Regions from separate parts of the Homo sapiens genome. Here regions 1, 2, 4, 5 and 6 are each linked to region 3. Evidence: promoter capture Hi-C in human tissues and cell types (Jung and others, 2019). All regions are on one chromosome and are shown on one strand. Each heading gives the region's core, a stretch centred on a gene start or on the middle of the fragment in contact. The rest is flanking DNA. Distances are from core to core; before and after follow the strand shown.

Evidence for each region. Contacts are between HindIII fragments. The study calls those that stand out against the background at their distance.
Region 1: a fragment that was not itself captured here is called in contact with the fragment with the promoter of CEMP1 in region 3 in 2 of the 25 tissues and cell types used here (bladder and dorsolateral prefrontal cortex).
Region 2: a fragment that was not itself captured here is called in contact with the fragment with the promoter of CEMP1 in region 3 in 1 of the 25 tissues and cell types used here (lymphoblastoid cells).
Region 4: a contact is called between a fragment that was not itself captured here and the fragment with the promoter of CEMP1 in region 3, in 5 of the 25 tissues and cell types used here (dorsolateral prefrontal cortex, mesenchymal stem cells, mesendoderm cells and 2 more).
Region 5: a contact is called between a fragment that was not itself captured here and the fragment with the promoter of CEMP1 in region 3, in 4 of the 25 tissues and cell types used here (dorsolateral prefrontal cortex, lymphoblastoid cells, mesenchymal stem cells and 1 more).
Region 6: a contact is called between a fragment that was not itself captured here and the fragment with the promoter of CEMP1 in region 3, in 5 of the 25 tissues and cell types used here (IMR-90 fibroblasts, dorsolateral prefrontal cortex, heart right ventricle and 2 more).

The regions. Positions count from the first base shown.
Region 1 is chr16:2,692,024-2,694,723 of GRCh38, forward strand. All of the region lies in intron 1 of KCTD5 (potassium channel tetramerization domain containing 5), which reads left to right. Among named protein-coding and RNA genes, the nearest start is that of KCTD5, 11 kb to the left of the region's middle. RefSeq lists enhancers at 477-1,295, 1,296-2,113. The HindIII fragment of the contact is 3,408 bases long and covers 1-2,700 here.
Region 2 is chr16:2,764,346-2,767,045 of GRCh38, forward strand. SRRM2 (serine/arginine repetitive matrix 2) reads left to right here. Exons shown (of 15, transcript NM_016333.4): 11 at 1-2,700. Among named protein-coding and RNA genes, the nearest start is that of ELOB, 12 kb to the right of the region's middle. The HindIII fragment of the contact is 3,944 bases long and covers 1-2,700 here.
Region 3 is chr16:2,530,121-2,532,820 of GRCh38, forward strand. CEMP1 (cementum protein 1) reads right to left here and starts at 1,288. Exons shown (of 1, transcript NM_001048212.3): 1 at 1-1,288. The coding sequence starts at 953. The coding sequence ends at 210. It overlaps AMDHD2 (amidohydrolase domain containing 2), which reads left to right. Exons shown (of 11, transcript NM_001330449.2): 11 at 1-1,297. MIR3178 (microRNA 3178) reads right to left here and starts at 1,885; the gene lies at 1,802-1,885. RefSeq lists enhancers at 1,691-1,740, 2,519-2,700, 2,521-2,570. The HindIII fragment of the contact is 25,225 bases long and covers 1-2,700 here.
Region 4 is chr16:2,662,192-2,664,891 of GRCh38, forward strand. It overlaps ERVK13-1 (endogenous retrovirus group K13 member 1), which reads right to left. Exons shown (of 3, transcript NR_040023.1): 3 at 1-1,216. Among named protein-coding and RNA genes, the nearest start is that of ERVK13-1, 9.9 kb to the right of the region's middle. The HindIII fragment of the contact is 6,273 bases long and covers 1-2,700 here.
Region 5 is chr16:2,281,691-2,284,438 of GRCh38, forward strand. It overlaps ABCA3 (ATP binding cassette subfamily A member 3), which reads right to left. Exons shown (of 33, transcript NM_001089.3): 25 at 2,589-2,747; 26 at 1,496-1,668. Among named protein-coding and RNA genes, the nearest start is that of MIR4717, 8.4 kb to the left of the region's middle. The HindIII fragment of the contact is 5,543 bases long and covers 1-2,748 here.
Region 6 is chr16:2,368,122-2,370,821 of GRCh38, forward strand. It overlaps the pseudogene ABCA17P. Among named protein-coding and RNA genes, the nearest start is that of ABCA3, 29 kb to the left of the region's middle. The HindIII fragment of the contact is 6,058 bases long and covers 1-2,700 here.

The DNA of each region.
Region 1 (2,700 bases), core at 200-2,699, 160 kb after region 3:
CCTGAGCTCCAGGGACTGAGACGAGCTGGGCAGAGCCTAGCCACTGTGGCCAGAGCTCTCACTGCCAGCAGGATCTCTCTTCAGGCACCCTGGAAAGGTGCCATGGCTCCGGCTGGTAAACTTGGCCTTGCAAAGCTCCACGTCCCTGTGTCTGGATGTGCCCAGCCCTGCTGATACGGTGTCTTTAGGGTGTCGCTTTTCTGGCCAGAAACGTCTCTGGCCGGCAGCACCTTTGTCCAAGTTCCTGTTCTGCGTCCAGGAAGAATGAGGTAGCAGACAAGTGGAGGGTGAGCATGACGAAGAGAAGCTTTACCAAGTGTTGGGACAGTGCAGAGGAGACTGTGGGGGCAGCTCCTCTCTGTAGGCAGGTCGGCTCATTCAGTTGGCAGCTCTCAGCAGAGAAGCGGCCCCGGACTGGCTGGCTCCTCTCCATTGACTTCCCAGCTCTCAGCAGAGAGGGTAGCTTCCCTCTGCAGCTGGTCTTCCACTTGCCAATTGTCTCTGTCCTCTTTGTCCTCTGCCCTGCTCTGGCTGAGCCCAGGGCTCTTATGGACCCAGAGGGAAGGAAGTGCATACTAATTGGTTCATGGGCAGGCCCGGAAAACGCACCACAAGTCCCCACTTTGGTCCCCGGGACTGGCAGCCCGGCCCCAGCCTTCATGCCCTCCCTGGCCTGAAGGTGGGGCCTTACCGGGGACCTACCCCCTTCTTCCCAGGAATCTATCTGCCTCCTGCTGCCATACATGGCGCCTGGGCTCGGCCCCAACTTTGCTCCAAGATCGGAGCAGGCACCAACAATAGGAGTAAGCCAGGCAGTGAGAGCAGGCACTTCTGAGCCTGCAAGGGCCCGGCAGAGGGGCCTTTCTGGGCCCCCAAGAGTGCAGGGATGCCTGAGGCTGTGGTTTGGGCAGCTGCAGTTGTGGGCCTGCCTGCTCCGTGGAGCGGGAAGCCCGGGTCTGCAGCCATAGTTTGGGTGGGGCGAACCCCAGGGCTGCAGCCCCAGGCAGCCCCACGCAGATCCTCCTCCCGAGGCCCGGGAACCTGACATCTTCAGTGGGGTGGGTGTGATGGCTGTGCCACTGGCTGGGTCCTCACCGCTGGTGCCACTCTCACTACCCACCCCAGGCCCCCGAAGCACAGCCCCAGCTCTGCATCGGGGCCCCTCTCCACCCAACCATGCTGCTCTCCTGCCATGCTGAGGGCAGTGGGCTATGGTGTGGGGAGTGGGGTCTGTTCGCCTCCTCCCTGTTCCCTCCCTGCAGCGGCAGGTATCACGTGATGGCAGCAGCTGCACCAGTTGGCCTGCTGCTGGCATCACCGCACTGGGCCAGCTGTGGCCAGACTGAGGTCAGGAGTTCCTTCAAAGCATCAGCCACAAAAGCTGCCTCCTAAAGGGGGTGTTTAATGGAAAAGCCAGCCCCGCCCAGTGGTAGGAGTGGCCAAGACACGGCAGCGGCCTACCCCTGCCTGCCCGTCTTGAGGCCGAGCCCAGTGCCAGCACGCTCAGTGCCCTGCCGGCTCCTTGGACCTGTCTGTGTTCCTCTGTCCTGCTGTGCAGTTTCCGCCGATGGCCGTCCCCACCCTGCCCTCCTTCCCTCCTGCCTTCATCCTTCCAGTTGCAGGGCTGGGGTTGCCTCGTGTGTCTGGGGGCGCCCAGCACGCTTCCTTCTCCTCTTGCACCGGCCCAGGGCCTGAGAAGCACATGGTGGGTTGTCTTGGCCTAGAGGTCACGGCTCAGTGCCCAGGTCCTGCCACAGGTTGGGTGCCCTGGCACTCATGGCGGCCCCGAGCTACACGAGCTGGTCTCCCCCACCTTTTGCTCGTAAAGAAACTGAGGCTTGGGGTGGCCTGGCTGTGAGCCTGCAGTCTGACCACTGAGGCCAGGCCTGGAGGCCTCCATGGCTGACAAAGGGGTTCTCTGGGGTTGTCCTGGGCAGAGGCGAGCCTCCGCCCTATCTGATCTTTCCTGACCTCCTGCCAGCGGTCTGTCGAGGTAGCAGTGAGCCGTGAATAATTCCTGAGCTGAGCGGTGTGCGGACGTCACGCGGCCAGCATTCTCTCTGTATGGGGGTGGGGCAGGGAGGAACCCTGGACTCGGGTGGCAGCACTGGCCGCCTTGCCAGACTTGGGCCCCTTTGTGGGAAATGGTGTCCATTTTTTAGCAGTTGCGCAGGACCGCCCAGCGTCCTCTTCCCGGGAGCTGGCCCTGTGGCCCCGGCCCTTGCTTGAGAGCTGTGGAGTCTGGAGGGCTGGGGAAAGGCAGGGCCAAGCCCAGGAGGCAGGGCCTGTGGGGTGGGCAGCTCTGGCTGGAGTGTTCCGGGGGAGGGTGGGGAAGGAGGATAGGGTCAGGTCTGTGTGGAGCTGGGGTCACCCTAAGGAGTAGGGGGGCCGCCGAGGCTCCGGGTCCAGCGCCCCCATGCCCGGAGCCCTAATTGATTTTATCTCAGCCACAAAACTCAGTCCCTGTGATCTAAAAAGAGCAGGTTGTTGCAGGTTTGCGGTGGTGGACTTTGGGAAAATCTCTTGAGACCACTAGGTCTTAGCACCCAAATGGCAGAATTTGTCCATGGATGAAAATAGGGTCCTAGCGTGGCCCCGTGCTTTGTGGTGGAGACACCTTCGGCCTCCCCATATCTGCGAGCCTGGCATTCCCGTGGCCAGCGCCTGCCCATGGCCCCACAGGAGCCACCATCTGGTGAG
Region 2 (2,700 bases), core at 195-2,694, 230 kb after region 3:
AAGTAGAAGAAAGGCCTGCTGTGTCTTTGACTCTTGATCAGAGCCAGTCACAGGCTTCTTTGGAAGCAGTAGAAGTCCCTTCAATGGCCTCATCTTGGGGTGGGCCACATTTTTCTCCAGAACATAAAGAACTGTCTAACTCCCCACTCAGGGAGAACAGCTTTGGATCACCTTTAGAATTTAGAAACTCAGGCCCACTTGGTACAGAAATGAATACTGGATTTTCTTCTGAGGTTAAAGAAGATTTGAATGGACCGTTTCTTAATCAGCTGGAAACAGATCCATCTCTAGACATGAAAGAACAATCGACAAGATCCTCTGGACACAGCAGTTCTGAGTTATCCCCAGATGCAGTGGAAAAGGCAGGGATGTCTTCAAATCAGAGCATCTCTTCACCTGTGCTTGATGCTGTACCCAGAACACCCTCGAGAGAAAGAAGTAGTTCTGCATCTTCTCCTGAAATGAAAGATGGTTTACCCAGAACTCCATCAAGGAGAAGCAGGTCTGGGTCTTCTCCAGGACTTAGAGATGGGTCTGGGACTCCCTCGAGGCACAGCCTGTCTGGGTCCTCTCCTGGAATGAAAGATATACCTAGAACGCCATCTAGAGGGAGAAGCGAATGTGATTCTTCCCCAGAACCGAAAGCTTTGCCTCAGACTCCTAGGCCGAGGAGTCGTTCTCCATCATCCCCAGAGCTCAACAACAAGTGTCTTACCCCCCAGAGAGAAAGAAGCGGGTCAGAATCATCAGTTGATCAGAAAACTGTGGCTCGGACTCCCCTGGGGCAGAGAAGTCGTTCGGGATCCTCTCAAGAACTTGATGTGAAACCCAGTGCATCCCCTCAGGAAAGAAGTGAGTCAGACTCTTCTCCAGATTCTAAAGCCAAGACAAGAACCCCACTTCGGCAGAGGAGTCGGTCTGGATCATCTCCAGAGGTTGACAGCAAATCTCGACTATCCCCTCGGCGCAGTAGGTCTGGTTCCTCCCCTGAAGTGAAAGATAAGCCAAGAGCAGCACCCAGGGCACAGAGTGGTTCTGATTCCTCTCCTGAACCTAAAGCTCCAGCCCCTCGGGCCCTTCCCAGACGAAGCAGATCAGGTTCATCAAGCAAAGGCAGAGGCCCTTCTCCTGAAGGAAGCAGCAGTACCGAGTCCTCTCCTGAACATCCGCCCAAATCCAGAACTGCTCGCAGAGGTTCCAGGTCATCACCAGAGCCCAAGACCAAGTCTCGTACACCACCTCGACGTCGCAGCTCTCGATCATCTCCGGAGCTAACAAGGAAGGCCAGACTGTCCCGTAGAAGCCGCTCTGCCTCATCCTCACCAGAAACTCGCTCTAGAACTCCCCCAAGGCACCGGAGAAGTCCCTCAGTGTCTTCCCCGGAGCCAGCCGAAAAATCGAGGTCTTCACGCCGACGGCGCTCAGCTTCATCTCCACGCACTAAGACAACCTCAAGGAGAGGCCGCTCTCCTTCGCCAAAGCCTCGTGGACTCCAGAGGTCCCGTTCCCGCTCAAGGAGAGAGAAAACAAGAACAACCCGACGTCGAGATAGGTCTGGATCTTCTCAGTCAACCTCTCGGCGAAGACAGCGGAGCCGGTCAAGGTCGCGGGTTACTCGGCGGCGGAGGGGAGGCTCTGGTTATCACTCAAGGTCACCTGCCCGGCAGGAAAGTTCCCGGACCTCCTCTCGACGCCGAAGAGGCCGCTCTCGGACACCCCCAACCAGTCGGAAGCGTTCTCGCTCACGCACATCACCAGCCCCGTGGAAACGCTCTAGATCTCGAGCCTCTCCAGCCACTCACCGGCGATCCAGGTCCAGAACCCCCCTGATAAGCCGACGTAGGTCCAGATCTCGAACTTCACCAGTCAGCCGGAGACGGTCAAGGTCCAGGACTTCAGTGACTCGACGAAGATCCCGGTCAAGAGCATCCCCAGTGAGCAGAAGGCGATCCAGATCCAGAACGCCACCAGTAACCCGCCGTCGTTCAAGGTCTAGAACGCCAACAACACGCCGCCGCTCCCGTTCTAGAACTCCACCAGTGACTCGCAGAAGGTCCAGATCCAGGACTCCACCAGTAACCAGGAGGCGATCTCGAAGCAGAACTTCGCCTATCACTCGCAGAAGATCAAGATCCAGAACATCTCCGGTCACCCGAAGGAGATCTCGATCTCGCACATCTCCAGTAACTCGAAGAAGGTCCCGCTCTCGAACCTCACCAGTGACACGCCGCCGCTCTAGGTCCCGGACACCTCCAGCTATTCGGCGCCGCTCTAGATCTCGAACGCCACTGTTACCACGCAAACGTTCTCGAAGTCGCTCACCACTTGCTATCCGCCGCCGCTCCAGATCCCGTACTCCACGAACAGCTCGGGGTAAACGGTCCTTAACAAGATCTCCTCCAGCCATCCGCAGGCGTTCTGCATCTGGAAGTAGTTCTGATCGTTCACGATCTGCTACTCCTCCAGCAACAAGAAATCATTCTGGTTCACGGACACCTCCAGTAGCACTCAACAGTTCCAGAATGAGCTGCTTCAGTCGTCCTAGCATGTCCCCAACACCTCTTGATCGCTGCAGATCACCTGGAATGCTTGAACCCCTTGGCAGCTCTAGAACACCCATGTCTGTCCTGCAGCAAGCCGGCGGCTCCATGATGGATGGTCCAGGTCCCCGAATACCTGACCACCAGAGAACATCTGTGC
Region 3 (2,700 bases), core at 38-2,537:
CGCTCTGACCTCCAGGAGGGAGACTGGGCCCGGGACCCCTGTTTTCTGCTCCCTGGACTGCCTAGCCCTGAGTGCCACGGATGACCAGCGTTCTGTTTTCTCTTCTCAATAACCCTATCTCTTCACACATCCCCAGGCCCAGTGCTTGCCGGCTGTGGTGACCCTGCCTGGTGCTGGAGGGCAGTATGGGAGGCACCAGTGTGCCCTGCTCACCCCATTAGTGTCATCCTGCCATCTTCTGTGTCCCCTTGGCCCTGGCACACACCCATGTGGCAAACACGGGCCGTGAGGCTCCCTGAACAGCTTCGAGGCGGGTGGGCTTCTGGAGCCCTCTTGGCTCTGAGGACAGCCACAGTGGGGTCAGACGTCAGGGATTGGTGCAGCCCCACGTCAGGGGTGATTGTCTTGACTTTCTCTCCATTTGAGTTCTGGGGTGGGTGGCTCCCTTCCCCCTTGCTTACAGGTGCTGTCCTGGGCACAGGAGGTACGCGCCTGGCTCTGCCACTGTTCTCTTCCCTCTGCTGCAAAGCCCAGTTAAGGAAATGTCTCCAGGTCCAAAGAGATAGGATGGTCTGGGCCCCACCTGTTGGAAGGGAACAGCCAGGGAAGAACCACCTGCCTGGGCAGGGCCTCGCCTGAGGGAGGGCCTGGGGCAGGGCACAAGGGGTTGATCTCAGCCCACAAGCCCCAGGGGCAGCCCAGGAAAGCAGGCGACGGATGTGGATCCTGACCTCCTGAGAGGTGTGAGGTGCAGGGATACCCACCTCTGCCTTGACGGCCGCGCACCCCTTAGGAAGTGGCTGTCCAGCGCCTGCCTGTGCTGGGCCTGGGAGAGGAGCTGTCTTGCCAGGGCTCCCAGGCAGGGAGAGGCAGGTGAGGTTCTCAGCCGATGTGTTAGAGGTTGAGCATCGCCTGTGCCCAGCTTGCTGGCTGTCAGTGCTTGATGTGCCCATCCTCAGCTAAAACCCAGAGCTGGCATGTTGGTCATCCCCACCTCAGACGGGACGCCCAGTCCAGAGCTGGTGAGCCCTGGGCCAGCCTTTGGGCCTGGCCTGCCCCATTCACCGGCCAGCGCCCCACCTCCCTGGCTGGAGGGTCGGGGAGGGGCTGGCAGAGATGGTTGGTCCACAGGGCTAGCCCTGGGTGGTGGGAGAGGGGCCCAGGGTCAGGGTGAGAGAGAGCTGGGCCAGGGAGCTGCTGCAGGATGATTTTGAGGTGTGGGGGAAGCACTCTTGGTTGGTTTTGGTTTGCTTTTTAAAAATTGTGGTAAAATACATAACAAAAGTAACTATCGTAACCTGAGCAGTTCTGTGACATGAAGTGAATTCACTGCTTTGTGTGACCTTGGCCACCATCATTCCCCACCACTCACTCCCGCTGGGCTCCCAGCCCTGCCCCACCATTCCGCTCCCTCTACAGCTATGGGTTTTACAAAGAAGGATGCAGGGCGCCCTGACTGCGGGGTGAGGGGCAGGCCTGCCCGCGGTGTGGGCATTCGCTGAAGGGGGACGCCCAGGTGTCTGCCTGAGTTACGGGTTGGGGGGTCGGGCATGTGGGGAGGGATGGAGTTGGAGGTGCATGCTCTCAGAGCTGGTAGGGGTGGCCCGTTTCGTCCCGTGTGTGAACTGGAGATGAGACCCGGCGCCTGCGATCCCGCAGACCGCGCCCGGCCGGGTGTCACTTGTGGGCGCACGCTGCCGGGATGCTGGGCCGAGCCCGCGGTTTAAGACCCAGATCTCAGCCAGGTCCCTTTCGCCGTCCGAGCCTCTGCACCTCGTGGGCTCCGAGCACATCCAGGCCAGAGACTGCGTTTGGGGCGTGGGCACGGGAGACCGTCATCAGCCAGGACGCTCTCGACCGATCCGGCCGCGCCCCGCCCAGCCTCGTAGCGCAGGCGCTGAGTCCAGGCTGACGCGCAACTCTGGGAGCGTTGCGGCACGCGGGGCCTTGCCTACTGTGGGAGGGGCTTCTGGGGGCGGGCTTCTGTCGGGCCAATTAGGATCGCCGCAGGGAAGGCACGCGCCGCGGCTGAGCAACAGGGGCGCGCGTCACCTTCTCTAGTTAACCCGCGCGGCCCCGGGCACAGAGCCCGAGGCTGCGCGGTCCCCGGCGGGCCCGCGGACCCCCCCCATCTCTGCGCCCCCCACATCTCTGCGGACCCCGCCTCGCCCCAGCCCTCCCATCCACAACCCTCACAACCTTGCATACCCCGCTACGCTCCCCACCGCGCCCTCACATTCCTGCAGACCCCGTCTCCCCACAACGCTCCCCGCCAACGCTGCGGAGCTCCGCGTCGCCCCAGCGCTCCCTGCCAAGCCCCCCACACCCCTGTAGACCCCGCCTCGCCCCAACCCTCCGAGCTGCTCCCCTTATACCCTTGCGGACCTAGTTTGTTTCGTCCCAGTCCTCCCCGTCGCGTCTCCCACATCCCTGCGGACCTCCCCGCGCCTCGCCTCTCCCTTCTGTTACGTATCACGCACAGGTGGATCCCACTACGACCCAGCTTGGCTCCTGTCCCGCACCTCCGCACCTGGCCTCTAGCCCCGCCCTCACTGTCTTGGGAAATGAAGCGGAGGGGTGGGCCGGACACTCTAGAAGCACCCTGGCTCGGAGCTTCCCTAGCTCGGAGTTGGTTTGGAGCCCAGGCTAGGGACCCAGGGTGGGCGCAGCAGGGGAGATTGGCACCAGAAGCGTGGAGGA
Region 4 (2,700 bases), core at 95-2,594, 130 kb after region 3:
TGACACAGCTCCTAATGGGTATCACCCATTCAGAAATAAGGGTGATGTTGAATGTGGGTGTTTTGGTTTTAGTACGAAGGAGCTGATAGGTAGTGTTCCATATCTTTATTCCCGACAAAGCTGCAGCTAATTTCCATAGTTCAGGATGTTCTGGGGTAAAAAAGGGATGAATAATTTTTGGTCTAGGAGGAGCAATACCTGTGTCCATCCATTTAAATGGGTAAGGAGACACCCGTTGTCTCATCGTGTAAGACTGCCACCCATGCTCTATATAATCTAAGGAATAAATAAACTCCGAGCATAAGGTATTTTTGCTGGAGCAATCTTGCCAATAATGTCCTTTTGGAGCCCAATCAATAACAATACCCATGGCTAGAGTTTGGAGTACAACAGCCTTGGGAGCATTACAATTATCCCATAAAATTGAAGTCACTATAAAAGGCCCATTTGTAGGTTTCTTTGGACAGTCCGGCAGTCCTTTTGTTTTATTAGTTTTGGTAGTGAGAGGAACTCTCCATGCCTCATGTGGGGTACGTTTGACAGTGAGAAGTTGAAAAGAGTTAGTACTGAACACATTATATACTTGATAAGAATCATTTGTAAAGGACGGTACAGTCCACATCCAATTCTGTTAAGAATAAGCTAAACAACCAGGCGACTTCCCAATACATAATGGTGGATATTTATAGCCAATTGACAGATTAAAGTGCATACCTTCTTCTTCCGGTTGAGCTGGAAACCGATCATCATTAGGGATCGGCATGAATGCACTATTATTAGTGTAAACTTCTACTGGAGAGTCCCTCCAGGAGACAGACCGAATTAGAAGGGGAAAAGGAACATATGCCCAATAAGTATAATTTTGAGTTGCCCCGACCGGTGGTATACTTACCGCTGCACTGACTACCATAAAGGCAGCCAGAATTATATTACCAGTCATTTTTGGGATTCCTTTTTCTGTTAAGAATTTTTCTGTTTGATGAGATAAAATCTGTATTCGACCCCAAGTAGGTGGGGTTGAACGAGAGGTGTTGTAGGTCACACGGCGAGATTTTGTCTCAATGTGGATGTCATGAAGTGTATGTATCAGGCGGTGAAAGTTGCTCTTTTGTTTCCGATGGGTCTTTGCCTTTTCTTTCTGGGAGCGTTTCATCTTTGGAGTTATGGTGCAATTTTAATTGTCGGGAGGGGACCCACACAGGCTGTAGTTCTTTTCCTGGGGAAACACAAACAAAACCCCTACCCCAAGTTATGACCGTGCCTAATTCCCATGTGTTAGTTTTTACGTCCTTCCACCATACCCGCATTCCTTTTTGTGGATCAAATTTATTTCCAGTGAAATGTTGTTCTGCGGCTGTGAAAGGTTGATTTCTTGTTAAGTTTAAGAAATTTAGTGTGAAAAGAGCCAGATTTAATTGGGCATGAGGAGTAATAGCATCTCCCTTTGATTTAGTATCCTGTTTACGAAGTTGATCTTTGAGTGTTTTATTGGCTCGTTCAACCAAGGCCTGTTCTCCAGAGTTATAGGGAATGCCCGTTGTGTGAGTAATTGCCCATGTCTGAGGAAACTTTTTAAAAGCAGCACTAGTGTAGGCGGGGCCGTTATCAGTTTTTAGTTTCTCAGAACAGCCCATAACCGAGAAACAGGAAGGCACATGTCGTTTACCATGAGCTGTACTTTCGCCCGTTTCACAAGTGGCCCAAATAAAATGAGAAAAGGTATCAATAGTTACATGTATAAAAGAAAGCTTGCCAAAAGGAGGATAATGAGTCACATCCATTTGCCAAAGAGCATTCTGTGAAAGTCCTCTAGGGTTAACTCCTGAAGACAGTGGTGGTAAAATTAACACTTGACAAGTAGGACAGTGACGCACAGTAGTTTTAGCTTGCTTCCATGTAAGGGGGAACTTGTTTCGGAGTCCCGCAGCATTGACGTGAGTTAAAGCATGAAAATTTTCTGCATCTGTAAAAACGGGAGTAACTAATGTATCAGCTCTGGCATTTGCTGCCGAGAGGGGTCCGGGGAGGGGTGTGTGGGCCCGAATGTGAGTACTGTAGAAAGGAGAAGACCTTGCTCTGAGCACAGACTGAAACTTTTGAAAAAGAAGGAATAGGTTATCATCAGGCAGAAATTTGATTAAGGCAGTTTCAATGTTGCGAGCAACATGTACGACATACGCTGAGTCAGAGAAAATGTTAACTGGCTCAGGAAAATCTTCAAGGACAGCCATAACAGCAGGCAGTTCAGCTCGTTGTGCTGAAATAGCCCCTGTGTTAAGAACACGTTCTCTGGGTCCTGTATATGCTGCTCGGCCATTAGAGGAAGCATCAGTGAAAACAGTGACAGCTTCAGGTAATGGGGTGTTTCTAGTAATGTTACGTAAAATCCAAGACGTGAGTTTAAGGAACTGAAATAATTTTACATGAGGATAGTGATTATCAATTATACCTGGGAAACGTGCCAAATGCACTTGCCAAGCAATGCAAGTAGCAAAGCCTGTTGAACTTGTAATCGGGTAAGGGGAACAACGATTTTTTGAGGCTCTGTTCCTGAAAGACGAAGGAGACGAGAACGAGCCTGACCAATTAAGGTAGAAATTTGATCTAGATAGTTAGTGTACGTAAAGAGCTGTGTGGGAGAAAACACAATTCAATTAAATTATGTCCCTGAATAATGAGTCCTGTTGGTGAATGTTCAGT
Region 5 (2,748 bases), core at 126-2,625, 250 kb before region 3:
ACGGGGCTAAACTAGCATCCAGGAGACATAAACTATCTGAGGAAAAAGAACTGTGCGGGACTCATGGAGAAAAATCATAAATCTGCTGGGGAATATAAAATAAGATTTTTAGACAATTTTTTTTTTTTTTTTGAGACAGAGTCTCACTCTGTTGTCCAGGCTGGAGTGCAGTGGCGCAATCTCAGCTCACTGCAAACTCTGCCTCCCAGGTTCAACTGATTCTCCTGCTTCAGCCTCCCGAGTAGCGCGCCACCACGCCCAGCTAATTTTTGTATTTTTAGTAGAGACGGAGTTTCACTGTGTTGGCCAGGCTGGTCTAGAACTCCTGACCTTTGGTGATCCGTCCACCTTGGCCTCCCAAAGTGTTGGGATTACAGGCATTAGCCACCATGGCTGGCCTGAAAGTAAGATTTTTGTTTTCAGATTTAGAGATGGGGTCTTGCTCTGTCACCCAGGCTGGGATGCAATGGTGTAATCATAGGTCACTGCAGCCCGGACCTCCCAGGCTTAAGCCTCCTGTCTCAGCTTCCCTAGTAGCTAGGATTACAGGTGTGTGCCATCATGCCTAGCTAATTTTTAAAACTGTTTAGAAGAGATAGGGTCTCACTATGTTGCCCAGACTAGTCTTGAACTCCTGGCTTCAGGTGATCCACCTACCTCTGCTTTCTAAAGTGCTGGGATTACAGGTGTGAGCCACCATGCCTGGCCAAAGATTTTAACACGTGGAGACAGTTCCCTTTTTAGAGAAGTCTGACTATTTTAAAGAAGTGAATTCCCCCTCGGCTAAGCTGTATGTGCAATGCAATGTCAACACATTTGCTTTTGTTTGTTTGAGGGAGGGGATGGAGACCTGAGAAAATGAACGTTTTCAATAAACACGTGGAGCACCCCTCAGCCCCACATCCCCTCCTCCGGGCACTGGGTGTCCCTGGGCACCACCTCTGCTCAGCAGGACTGGGCACCCCTCAGCCCCACATCCCCTCCTCCGGGCACTGGGTGTCCCTGGGCACCACCTCTGCTCAGCAGGACTGGGCACCCCTCAGCCCCACATCCCCTCCTCCGGGCACTGGGTGTCCCTGGGCACCACCTCTGCTCAGCAGGACTGGGCAACCCTCAGCCCCACATCCCCTCCTCCGGGCACTGGGTGTCCCTGGGCACCACCTCTGCTCAGCAGGACTGGGCACCCCTCAGCCCCACATCCCCTCCTCCAGGCACTGGGTGTCCCTGGGCACCACCTCTCCTCAGCAGGACGGCCCTGGGCCCCCAGGCTGACTCCTCGGCAGGGGCTCACAACTCGACAGCCCTTGTGAGTGGCGAGGGCTGTGCCCCGCCCTGGCTGTAAGTGCCGGCTGGTGCTGAGGCCGTACAGTGGGAGACCATCTGGTGCAGGAGCTGCCTGGTGGAGAAGGAGGTGGAGCTGCCCCAGGTTGTGCTGGGCCCAAGCAGAGACGTGGGGAGCATCTCGCCAGTGTCCTGGGCTCCCGGAGCCACTCACCAGTGTCCGCCTCCTCCGGAGGGCGCAGAGGATGCCCCTGAGTCTCTGAAGCAGGTTGGTCTCGATGAGGAAGAGCAGGATGAGGTAGGCGCACCCTGAGGCGGCCATGGAGGCCACAAACCGGCCGACCCCCGGGGCGCTCCAGGCATAGAAGTTCTCCTGGTACTGGATGTCTGTGGGGCGAGGGAGTCACTGTGCCCCGAGGCCTGGGGCACCCTCCTCCCCTTCCAGGTTCCCGGCCCCCACTCCCCTCCCCAGGCTGCTCAAGGCGCCTGTAACAATGTCCCCTCCATGGGGAGATGTGAAGGCCAGTAGGTCACAGCTGCCTCTCGAGGCACCACAGCTCAGAGAGGGGCCAGGCACGTAACAATCCAATGCAGTCCCATGAGCGACATGGCAGACCCAGGGCAGCAACAGCCCGCCTGAGAGGCACAGGCTCTGCGTGAATCCTGGGCTGCCTCCTGACCAGGACAGAGACCGTTACAAGCACCGAGGGGTGTGTGGGAGGCTGAGGAGGCCCCACAGGACAGGTCCAAGTTCTGTCCCCCTGGACCTGGGGTTGTGATCTTGCTTAGAAACAGGGTCTTTGAATATGTGATTAGTAAGGATCTTAAGGTGAGACACTGGATTAGTGTGGGCCTTAAACCCAACAGCAAGTGTCCTTATAAGAGAAATGCAGAAGGAGATTTGAGACAGGAGACAGGAGCTGCCATGCGAGGATGGAGGCGGTGGTGGGGAGTAGGTGCAGCCAGGAGCTCAGGATGCCTGGAGCCTCCAGGAGATGGGAGAAGCAGGAAGGGTCCTCCCCTGAGCCATGGGGGATTCACTCCTCGTGCTAAGCGCTGGTCTGTGGTTCCTTGTTACAGATGCCCAGACACTGAGGCAGGTGGGAGAGTGGGAGCTCAGGTACAGGGCCTGGGAGCGAGCGGGCGCGAGGGGGCTGCTGTGGGAGGTGGGGCAAGGCGGTACAGAGGAACGCACCAGCCCCAGGCCACTCAGACGCAGAGGAGCCCCTGCCCTAGGAGGCCCCTCTGCAGTGACCACGTCCTGAGGACGCAGGGGTGCTGCCCGGGGTCGGGGCTGGGACACTCACTATATTTCTTGCAGTAGTGGGCGGCGACCTCGGAGGAGGTGCAGTACCTCCGCGTCTCGTAGTTCTCGTAGAAACTGCTGACTGCCATCCCCAGACAGTGGTTGGGCAGCACCAGGAACACGTGATCCAGGGTTTTGGAAAGTTCTTCCAGTTTTACAGC
Region 6 (2,700 bases), core at 98-2,597, 160 kb before region 3:
TGTTCAACACGCATGTCATATTGTATGATCTATGTCTAACATGCCTCCATTACAATCTCCACTGACTGTATCCTTTGCATTTCATCCGTCTCATTTAATTTAATGAAGAAGAAACAGAAGATAATCATCCACACTCTTGGGACTCTCTGCATGTCTGTGCAGCTCCAAAGAGTCTGTTCCTGCTTTGGGGGAATCCCTGAACTCTTTCTGGCCTGTTCATTGGCTGATGCTTCACTTTGATTTTATTTACTCTGACTGATGCTTTTAGATCTTGCCTTGATTCTTATTCCATCCTCCCTGCCCCATCTGCAACACTGGTGCAGAATCCCAGTTCCTGTTCTTCAGGCCTCTTGGTCTTGGCTGGCCCTCTCCCTTTCCCTCTCATGAATCTCCCTATCTGCATTTCTAGTCTGGGAAAATCTCCTTTTCCCTGTCTGTCATTCAGGATAAGAGGACAGAAAATTAATGCCAGAAGGTTGGAGTTTTTCCAGGAGTTCCTATTTGTCCCAAGGGCTGGCATGTGGTCCCAAAGCCAGGTCCTGACTCCTGGCTGCCATAGTCCTCTCTTCTTGGGGAGCCATGCTGACTTTCTGCTCTGTCACCCTCTGTTGAGGGTGAAGGAGAGAGCCTTGCTGAGTGGCTGCTTTGCATCTGCTTGCTCTCTCCCATGCAAAGGGGTCTAACTGCACCTGACAGAGCAAACACCTAAAACTTGGCACCCAGTACTCCCTGGATCTGCCTGCGTTGCCCAACTCTCGCTTCTGGCAACCCCAGGTTCCTAGAGAAGTACTGGGGCAACACTGACACCTGTGCATCCTCTGTCCTTCACAATAAGCATCACATTCCCGACTGAAGGCCCATGGGCCAATCCGCTCTTGAAAGACTCATGCTCTCCCATTCACTTTAGATTTTTTGGTCTTCCTTTTTGTGAGGGGTTTAGGGTGAACATCCTCTAGGCAACTAACTTTTCTTAGAAAATTAAGCTGGTAATCTACATCTGTTGTAGAATGGCTCAAATATTGGCTTGAAGCCTCAGGCCTTTGTGCACACTAAGTGAGAGTCCAAGTCCGAGTACTTACAGTTTTGCATAATTCTAGAAAAGATCCAGCAGTTCTGCAGTGAAAATACTCCTACACACAATCAAGAATATGTAACCATTCTGAGAATTTATTACCAACAATTTGTTCCTTCTTTTTCCTGGACAGATCTGAGAGTCTGCCTAGGTCTAGGCCATCTGAAGACCATAGCCACCTCTACTCCTGGGAGGGGGTTGAGGTACCCCACCTTGGCTTTGCTCATGTTGGAGCCTGGTAACCATTGCTTGGAGGTGGGGCTGTTATCTCTTAGAGGACCCCAGAACCAGGAATCTTTGCCTTTCAGCCTATTTTTCCTGAAAGCTGACCCCATCATGCCAACTATGCTGTATTGAAATGAGTGTTGCTTGTGATAAGGACTGTTTTTGAGACTTAGTAGTAAAATTCACTGACCATAAACCCAACAGCGGTAACAATTCAGAAGTAGGTCACAACAGGTTAGGGAGGCTGTGTCTTTCAAGTGCTTTGAGTTTAACCATCTCATATGAGTGCTTTGAGTTTAACCATCTCATACGTGCTGTGTGATCAAAACTGCAGAAGAGGTGCTCTTTCCCTGAAGTCTGAATACTAAGGGGAGGAGATGTGGTCCCACCTCAAAAGATTCTTGTATTGGACATCTTTTATTTTGCCTGCCCAGGCTCCTTTACCCCATTTTTGGATCATATATGCATTACCCTCAGCTCCAGGGGTCTCCCTTGTGACTTTCCTCTCTTTCTTCCACACTGTAGTGAGGACTCTAGGGATGCCTTTCCTACCGCTGTCTGTCTCTATGAATGCCTAGCCATGATCCGTCTGAAACACCAGTTGTTGTATCTTTATACTTTCTTTCTTTTTTCTTTTTCTTTCTTTCTTTCTTTCTTTTTTTTTTTTTTTTTTGAGATGGAATCTCCCTCTGTTGCCCAGGCTGGAATGCAGTGGCGCAATCTCAGCTCACTGCAACCTCTGCCTCCCACCAGGTTCAAGCAATTCTGCCTCAGCCTCCCGAGTAGCTGGGACTTTAGGCATGCACCACCACACCCAGCTAATTTTTGTATTCTTAGTAGAGATGGGGTTTCACCATATTGGCCAGGCTGGTCTCGAACTCCTGACCTTAATTTCTTGATATTCACTATTTTCTCATAGGATACAACAAAGAAGGCTTCCTGGCCATACAGTATGCTGTGGATAAAGCCATCATGTGGTACCATGCTCACAATGCAATGACCAACATGTTTGAGAATCTCAATGTACTTGTGAAGAGATTCCCATATGGACCCTATATCGAGGACAGGTTCTTCCTAGTCCTTCAGAATGAGTTTTCTGTGTTCTTCATACTCAGCTTCATGTACATTGAGCTCATCATCATCAGTTCCATTGTACTGGAGAAAGAGAAAAGACTGAAGGTAACCCCAGATACTTCAAGTGTATGCCTCTCCTGGGACAGGGGTATGGGGAAGCTGCTAATGAAAAATGACCAGAATAGGAATGAAGCCAAAAGGAGGTTGCTTAGGTGTCCAAGCAACTTCCAAGGTGAGTTGGAACTTGGAAGGTTGTTCACAATTTTAACTTGCTTGCAATCTAGGTGATCCCACCTCTGTTATTACATGAATCCTTGCCTTTAGTCTGA